Linked DNA regions of Homo sapiens: region 2 is linked to region 1. The links are contacts of gene promoters, found by promoter capture Hi-C in human tissues and cell types (Jung and others, 2019). All regions are on one chromosome and are shown on one strand. The core of a region is centred on a gene start or on the middle of the fragment in contact, and the rest is flanking DNA. Distances in the headings are between cores, read along the strand shown. Region 1 holds the start of FKBP15 (FKBP prolyl isomerase family member 15). Region 2 has its middle 5.8 kb from the start of ZNF483.

Evidence for each region. The method cuts DNA at HindIII sites, captures the fragments that hold promoters and counts their contacts. A contact is called where the count stands out against the background at its distance.
Region 2: a contact is called between a fragment that was not itself captured here and the fragment with the promoter of FKBP15 in region 1, in 1 of the 25 tissues and cell types used here (aorta).

What each region holds. Positions count from the first base shown.
Region 1 is chr9:113,218,872-113,223,177 of GRCh38, forward strand. FKBP15 (FKBP prolyl isomerase family member 15) reads right to left here and starts at 2,406. Exons shown (of 28, transcript NM_015258.2): 1 at 2,320-2,406. The coding sequence starts at 2,372. SLC31A1 (solute carrier family 31 member 1) reads left to right here and starts at 2,673. Exons shown (of 5, transcript NM_001859.4): 1 at 2,673-2,807. RefSeq lists enhancers at 2,205-2,334, 2,445-2,554, 3,395-3,584. The HindIII fragment of the contact is 7,733 bases long and covers 1-4,306 here.
Region 2 is chr9:111,517,274-111,521,579 of GRCh38, forward strand. No RefSeq gene overlaps it. Among named protein-coding and RNA genes, the nearest start is that of ZNF483, 5.8 kb to the right of the region's middle. The HindIII fragment of the contact is 5,739 bases long and covers 1-4,306 here.

The DNA.
Region 1 (4,306 bases), core at 1,156-3,655:
TATCTTTCTACCATCTTTAGACTGGTGATTTATCATTACTATGCTAATCGGATCTGCCTACACATACCTTTATAATCTAAAACAAATATATACATAATTGGCCCCTTAAAAATGCTTTGTGATTATTATTCCTGGATTGATTTTATTCTACTACTAAAATAAAAGTTTCTTAGGGGCAGAAACTGTGCCTTATTCCTATCTGGATTAGCTGAAGCCAAGTACTATTAGTTCATTACTATTACTTCCCACAACGGTGAGGAATGGGCTAAAACAAACTAACAAACAAAAACAAGGCTCCTGATTACTACTTCTAGATTAATAGTAAACTCTAAGAGGCCTAGAAACTCAGAAGGCAGATTATCAGATACTCCTACTTCTATTAGGCTTGAATATCCTTCATGAAATCAAGCAAATCATGTGTTTAAATCAAGAGACTTGGAACTTAAGCAAGTATACTTACAGTAATATATGGCTATAAAAGAGGAAGTGAAAAGTAGCTGCAGTATTCACTGTCATATGTTCTACTTCCTTAGAGAAAACCAAAAAAGGAATAGCTAAATCAGAGAATTGTGGTGAAACTTTCTGTATTCTCAGTGTTAAATTTGATTTGGTTTTCCTGATAACTGTGGGGAACAAAAATAAACTATAACTTTCCTCAGTATGTCTTTTACCATCAAATTAGCTGTTGTCTATGTCTAGGAGCACAGTCACATGCCTAGAATTCAAGTGTCTCAGATCCTTGAGAAGCCTGCTCAGGAAAAAAGAATAGTTGAGCCACCAAGAATTTATCTCTGGCCAGGAATCTGGAAAAGAGCACATGGCTGTCATTACCTATCCCATAATTTTCAGTCAGCTTGGACTGATTGTTGCATGAAAATTGGGAGCCCTAACATTACAGACTTCTCCCAAATACTTTCACATAGTGAAGAATGCGAATTTAAAGTGGAATAGGGAAAAAAGGAACAAAAGCACAGCTTAACTGTAAAATAACTGAGAAACGGAAAGAACTCAAAGTGGAACTAAGTGAATGCAGGCCATCTAAAGACGGGGTAGGAAGGGAACAGAGTGGTGAGAGTGAAAAAGACTAAAAGGTAGGTAATATAGAGCTAGTCAGTGTAAATCAAAAATTCCTACTTAAGGACAAAAGAAGGCCAGTGTCATTTTATGGTCATTCATCTATTAACTCATTTGTTTATGTATTGTCTATGACTACTCTCACCCTACAAGGCAGAACTGAGTATTTGTGGTTGCAATAGAAACCACATGGCCCAACAGATCTGGAAGCAACTTAAGGGCAGGCACAGCAGTTTAATCATTTTTGTAACCTCTTAGCATTTAGCAGAATAAGGGGCATATGTGGTGCATTTGTCATTTTTCCAGTACATTCTTCAGCACGCACAAAATTTGTTAAGCATATGTTCAAAGAAAAGCTCTGCAATGATCAGAGCTTGGTAGCTCACAAGTTTGGAGGAAGTCAAGCTGTCCACTGGCACAACACAATGGAAAAGGCTAAACTGACTACTAAAAGAGACAAAACCCTTCCTCTCTTTAAAGATTTCTATTCCAGGCTGGTATATATTAATATAATGCTTGGGGAAACTGGAGAATGACAGAAGTCTGTTACGTTGGTTTTAAGCTTTAAGCTTTACAAAGTGCAATTTCGCAGCTATTATTCATTCAACAGCCACTTCCTGAGCACTCACTATGTGCTAGGTACCATGCTGCATGCTAGACAGAAATGAACACCATAAGCAGTCCCTGTCCGGTGAGGACTCATAATCTAATAGGTGCGGGGTATAAGAATAGAGGCAAACACACCTAGCTGCAGGAATAAGGAAGAGAAAGCAATTCATTCTGCCTGAGGTTGCAGAAGGAAAAGCATCCAAAACGTGACATCCGAGCTGGGCCTTGAAGAATGCTAGAGCTGACCCACCAAGGCCTGGTTCTAAAGTGTCTTCGCCTTCTCCATGGAGAAAAGAAGTCTCACATCAGCCCCAGCTGACTCCTATAAAAATTCTGAGGCAGGAAGTCTCATCAGCAATCATTCCCATTTCACCGGAGAAATTGTGACCCAGAATGCAAAAGGCAAACCCAGGGCTATCTTCCCGCCAAGAGAGATGCCGGGTCCCGAACCTCAGATCGGCAGGGTCAGCACAGTTGCAAGTTCTGCCCAGATTCTGAGAGGTGTAGAGCACCGGAATGTGGCAAGGGTCTCCCCCCGGAAGTTGGGAAAAGGCCTGAGAAGAGATCGACCCCCCTCCAACAATCCGCCGGTATCTCTCAGCCACGCCCTCCAGCGCATACTTCTCAGTCACTCACCCGCCGCTCGGCGAGAGGAAATCGGTGTCGTCCTCGTCCCCCGCACCGAACATTGCGTTGGCTTTCACCGGGTTGCGGGGAGGAAGCTGGGTATTCCCAGAGTCCCAGGGCCTGTCACCGCCGACGTCGTAAAATGCCGCGGCGGCGTGCTGCTTTCCGGCAGGGCGAACTCCAGCACGGTCTCTGGACCGAAAGTAGACTGGGCTCTGGAGAAGGTGGGGCAAAGGCAAATGAGAGGCTCGCGCGGGCACGAGCGCCGAGTGACGTCAGGCCTCTCCAGCCCGCAGCGGGGCGGAGCTTCACAGCCCCTTGCAGGGATTGGTCGGTAATGCTAGGGGGCGGGAGGGGGCGGGAAATCCTCGGCCTCGGTGGCGGTGGTGGACACGTCGAGCCGGGTAGAAGTGGAGGGGCCGTTCGAAGAGTCGTGAGGGGGTGACGGGTTAAGATTCGGAGAGAGAGGTGCTAGTGGCTGGACTTGACCTGGAAAGGTAAGGCTTCTCTCGGCCCCTCTTTCGCACCCCTGTGCATGGGTACCGTCCTTTTCCCAGCGGGACAAGGACCTTCCTCGCCGCTTTCCTCAGCTCCGCGGAAGGAGAAAGAGCTCGGGACTGGAGGGTTAAAGACTGGGGCTTCGGCCCGGCCCCTGCAGTGGCATAGCCAGAGTGACCTTGGGCCGGGGTGCTCGGTGCCTCAGTTTCCCCGTGTATGCAACCGGCCATTTGTCCAGTTCTTCCATGTGCCTGCTGGTCCAGAAGATTTTAGAGCTCAGAGGCCATGGATTTCAATCCCGGCCTCCTCGTAATCTCAGAATTTACAGATAGGGAGACGAAGGAACTAAGCACCCGGGTGACTAGTCCGAGGTCACAAAGAGTAAAGGGCAGACTGAGACTGGATTCCTCGTCCTTTGATTCAGGACATAGTGAGCTAGTGGGTGAACAAGAACCTTATCAGCCCTTAAGCACTGTGTGCCCTTACAGAGTGACTATTGAAAGACTGTAGCATACACCTCGAGGAAAGTCCCCTTTCTAGAGTCCACCTGTATTCTACGCGGATGAGGTGCAGAAGAGCTAAGATATTCTGGCGGTGGGTGATGGAAAGGAGGATACTTTGGAGGCAGACACATCCCCACCCCAACTTTGGCGTGGGTTTCCCTGGGTCTTCCTGCGACAGCCCTAAATCAACATCAATTGTGGCGGACTCCTCTGCCTCCAGTTTCCACCCTATCTGTATCTTACATAAGTATTTCTTTGGTTAACCTGGTATCATTCTCGAAACAATCCTGGGGTAGTCCTGGCTTAGACAAGGTGTGGCTAAGGAGATAGTGTCCCAGCGTAGCGTCCACAGACTCACTGGAGTTCTTGGGCTTCCCCTCACAGTCAGGTTGGTACTACAGGTGTCCCTTACGTGAATGTTTCAATCTGTCAGTATGAAATTGAAATGAAATGATTGGTAGCTCCCTCCCAGAGAACTTTGCACCTCCTGGCAAAGATGTTAAAGCAGCGAAGGCTCACAGTTGGAATGATGCAACTGGAATCTAAGCACTAGAACCGGAACTGGAACTAGAATCTAAGGACTAGCACTAGAACTGTTGCAGTAGCTCTGTTTAGTGTGTGAACTTGGCTACCTCTTGGAGGTGTTGGGGGAGTAACTGGATTAAGTACCATGGCACTTTCTAATCCCTCTCCCCAACACCGGTCACTGTGATTGCAGCACTGAAACATCTAAATGTTTAACAGAAAGAGCTTGCTAGCCCCTGGCTTACATTATCTATGGTATTTTTAACATGGAATGAATACTTAAAGTCACTTGCAAAGCAGTCTCACTGCAGAATCTTTCTAGGTGTTTATGACATGTCCTTCCAGCCTTTTCTTTAAAAAAAAAAAATGGCCAAGGGAATATTTGAACTCTTATCTTGTATTCTTGGGTGGAGCTGATTTTATCCTGGATGTTTAAGTAGCTTTTGTAGGTACTCAGGAATCCTAAAATC
Region 2 (4,306 bases), core at 705-3,204, 1.7 Mb before region 1:
TCACCTCCAAAAGTTTTCTGATGTCCCTTTGTAATTTCTCCCTCTCTCCACCTCCTCCCTTTACAGGCAACAACTGATCTATCACTACAGATTAGTTTATATTTTCTCAAATTTTCTATAAATGGAATGTTATACTATACGTTTTTCATTCCTTTCACTTTGAGATTTCATCCCTGTTGTGGCATGTATCAATAGTGCATTCCTTTTTATCAGTGGATAGTGCAGTATTCCATCGTGTGGATGAACCACTATTGTTTATCCACTCACCATTTGCCGGACATTACAGATAGTTACAGGTTTTGACTATTTTAAATAAAGCTGCTGTGAACAATCATATCTAAGTCTTTGTGTGGAAATATGCTTTCATTTCTATTGAGGTAAAATTCACACTTTTAAGGTGCACAATTCCATTTGACAAATCTATACAATGCAATATTCAACTGGACAGGTAAATACAATCATGTAACCACCATTTTCATTATCCCCCAAATTCCCTTGGGCACTTCTCTACACTCCCATCCCCTGGCAACCACTTATCTGATTTCTGTCCCTATAATTCTGTTTTTTTTAGAATGTCATAAATGGAATTATACAGGGTCTACCTTCTTGCATCTCGCATCTCTCACCTAGCATACTGCTTTTGAGATTCAGCCACATCATTGCATGTATCTGTTACCAAATCAAACTGGGTCTGCTTGCCCAGCAAGTAAGGCCAAACATCCACACTGAGGTTTGTAGCTGGAGAAAGGAGGGTGTTTATCTCCAGGGCACCAAGCAAGGAGAACTGAGCAGCTCATGCTTAAGACCCAACCCCTTGGATGGCTTATATGTAAGAGTTTTTAAAGGCAGGGAGCAGAAGTTACAGGCACTATCATAAATCAATATATGGAGGCTACACATTGAGTTGACTTAAAAAGGCTAGACCTCTCAAAACAGAAGCCCAGAAGTCATAGGTGGATTCAAAGGTTTTCTGATTTCTGATTGGTTAAGGAGGTAAAGCTTTAATTTTGTTTTAAAGTGGCTAGACGCAGTGGCTCACGCCTGAAATCCCAGCACGTCGGGAGGCCAAGGCAGGATGGATCACCTGAGGTCAGGAGTTCAAGACCAGCCTGACCAACATGGAGAAACCCCGTCTCTACTAAAAATACAAAATTAGCTTGGTGCGGTGGCGCATGCCTGTAATCCTAGCTACTTGGGAGGCTGAGGCAGGAGAATCGCTTGAACCCAGGAGGCGGAGGTTGTGGTGAGCTGAGATCGCGCCATTGCACTCCAGCCTGGGCAATAAAAGCAAAACTCCGCCTCAAAAAAAAAAAAATTTTTTTTTCTAAAGTCTAAAAATTTGGGATCAGCAGAAAAGAATGTTAGCTCTGGCCCATGGGTATGACTTCCTTTATGCCTCTCAGGAAGAAATTTAGAACAAAGAAGAGCAGTCAGAATTTAGTCCTCAGTTCCCGCTTATCTGAATTCTACAAGACAGCAGATCTGTTTGGTGGGGGTCTGAGTTTCTGAAAAACAACTCAGGAACATATGTTATGATGTTATCTTTAGTTTCTATAGGGAACCAAATATCTTGTGATTCTAACTTCCTTGGCTATTGTTTTACGCTACTATTACCCCCTTCTTGCTTATCAAGTGGTTCACTTACTTCTCAGGGCTAGCTAAGTGCCTGGAATTTCCCTTGAAGGAACTCAAGATTTTCCTTTATTTTCATGTGTGAGGGGGGCCTGCAGGCCCATAAGAGGGGTCCCTGCTCCCTCATCAGTAGTTCATTCCTTTCTGTTGCTGAGTAGTATTTCATTGTATGAATGTAAGACAATTTATTTATCTGTTCACTAGTTGCTACACATTTGAGTTATTTGCAGTTTTTGGCAAGTGTTAATAAAACATACATAAGCATTTCCAGACAGATATTTTTGTGGACATGATTTCATTTTTCATGAGTAAATACCTAGAAGTGGGATTGCCGGGTCATATAGTAAGTATATATTTAACTTTATAAGTACATTATTATTATCATTATTATTATTATTATTTTGAGACAGAGTCTTGCTCTGTCACCCAGGCTGGAGTGCAATGGGGTGATCTCGGCTCACTGCAACCTCCGCCTCCCGGGTTCAAGCGATTCTCCTGCCTCAGCCTCCCAAGTAGCTGGGATTACAGGTGCCTGCCACCACACCTGGCTAATTTTTTGTACTTTTAGTAGAGATGGGGTTTCGCCATGTTGGCCAGGCTGGTCTTGAACTCCTGACTTCAGGTGATCCACTTGCCTCAGCCTCCCAAAGTGCTAGGATTACAGGTGTGAGCCACAGCACCCGGCCATAAGTACGTTATTTATTAAGCTTTGATGCTTTGATTTCGCTTGTCCTTTAATCTCTCTACTTTCTTCTTTTTCATTCGTTCATTCTTTTTTTTCTTTTTTTGTTTTAGAGACAGGGTCTCACTCTGTCATCCAGGCTGGAGTGCAGTGGCACAATCAGAGCTCACTGCAGTCTCAACTTCCTGGGCTCAAGAGATCCTCCTTCCTCAGCCTCCTGAGTATATGGAACCACAGTCATGCACCACCATGCCCGGCTATTTTTAAAATTTTTTATAGAGATGGGTCTTGCTATGTTGCCCAGGCTGGTCTCAAACTCCTGGCTCAAGTGATCCACCCACCTCGGCCTCTCAAAGTGTTGAGATTACAGGCGTGAGCCACCACACCTGGCTCATTCTTTCTTTTTTTAAGAGACAGAGTCTCACTATGTTGCCCAGGCTGGTGTCGAACTCCTGGCCTCTGGCAATCCTCCTGCATCAGCCTCCTGAGAAGCTGGGACTATAGGCGCATGCCGCCATGCCCAGCTCTCTTTTCTTCTTTTATGTTAACTAACTCTTATCTTCATCTTCCTTACCTAAATTGGACTCCATCATAAATCATTTTAAACAAACTTTTGCTCATATCCTCAACTGGTTATCCCACTGTCCTCCTGTCAAACTTATGCTACAACCCCCATCCCCTGGATCAATTCAACTGTCCCTCTTCCCTGTACCTATTCTGGAGCTATGTTGTGTACCTTGAGAAAAATCATTTAATGTACATATTGATGTAACATAAAATGGGGGTTTCTAACCTCAAATGGGCCCTTAACACTGCAGGGAAATCCTTCTGTGTTTTTGTGATCAACTCATATTCTCCCAGCAGCCATCTACTCTTTTTTTTTTTTGAGATGGAGTCTCGGCTCTGTCACCCAGGCTGGAGTGCAATGGCGTGGTTTCAGCTCACTGTAACCTCCACCTCCCAGGTTCAAGTGATTCTCCTGCCTCAGCCTCCCAAGTAGCTGGGACTACAGGCGCGTACCACTATGCCCGGCTAATTTTTTTTTTGTATTTTTAGTAGAGACAGGGTTTCACTATGTTGGCCAGGCTGGTCTCGAACTCCTGACCTCGTGATCTGCCTGCCTTGGCCTCCCAAAGTGCTGGGATTACAGGTGTGAGCCAGCACGCCCGGCCAAACCTAATCTACTCTTATCAAGCTTCAGATCCCACCCGTATCTCCCTTCTGGGGAGGTCCCAATAGTGGATCTCAGCAGGATCCATTAGATACCAGTTCCAAATCCAACTGCATCTACCCCCTTCTTTGCCTCCTTCCCTGCTATTACAATGAACACTGCATGCTGGCTCTGGCAGTTTAAAGCTAATTTCTCCACTTGTGCTTCCCCCTAGTTTCTCAGTCTTCACTCTACAGCATATTCCCACACTCTCTGTCTTCATCCCCTTTCTCTCTAGTGGATCCTTACGGGAGCTTCGTAGCTCACTTGCTTGCTATTTCTTTTTCTTTCTTTCTTTCTTTCTGGAACATACCACCCTCTGTGGCTCTACAGAGCCAGGCAGGAGGAATTTTTTGTTATTTCTTTTCAGGAGAGGGTCAGCTCCCCTAGAGTGGCTCTGGGATCTTTGGAGTCCCAGTTAAACCAGGACTGGAGGCACCTGGAAACAAGGACTTGGTGTCCTTGAGGCAGCTCAAACCTTTAGAGCTCAGAGGCCTCCAAAGTGGATGCACAAGAGCCCTGAGGGTCTTAAGGAGATAACTCCAAAGCTGCTAGGTGGGGAAGCCAGGACTTCAATCAGGAATGCACCTCTTTCATCTGTAATATTTCTTTTGGACAGTTTGGCAATTAACAACTAGTTTTAAAACACCTGTTTTAGATCCTTGATCAGAGTCCCAGCCTGTCCTCCTCCCTCTAGAGATGGGGAAGATGTGCTCCTTTCTCCTAAAAGCCTTGGGCTCAGAGCCAGTCAGTTTCCAATCTACCAGTTGAGTGACCTTGGG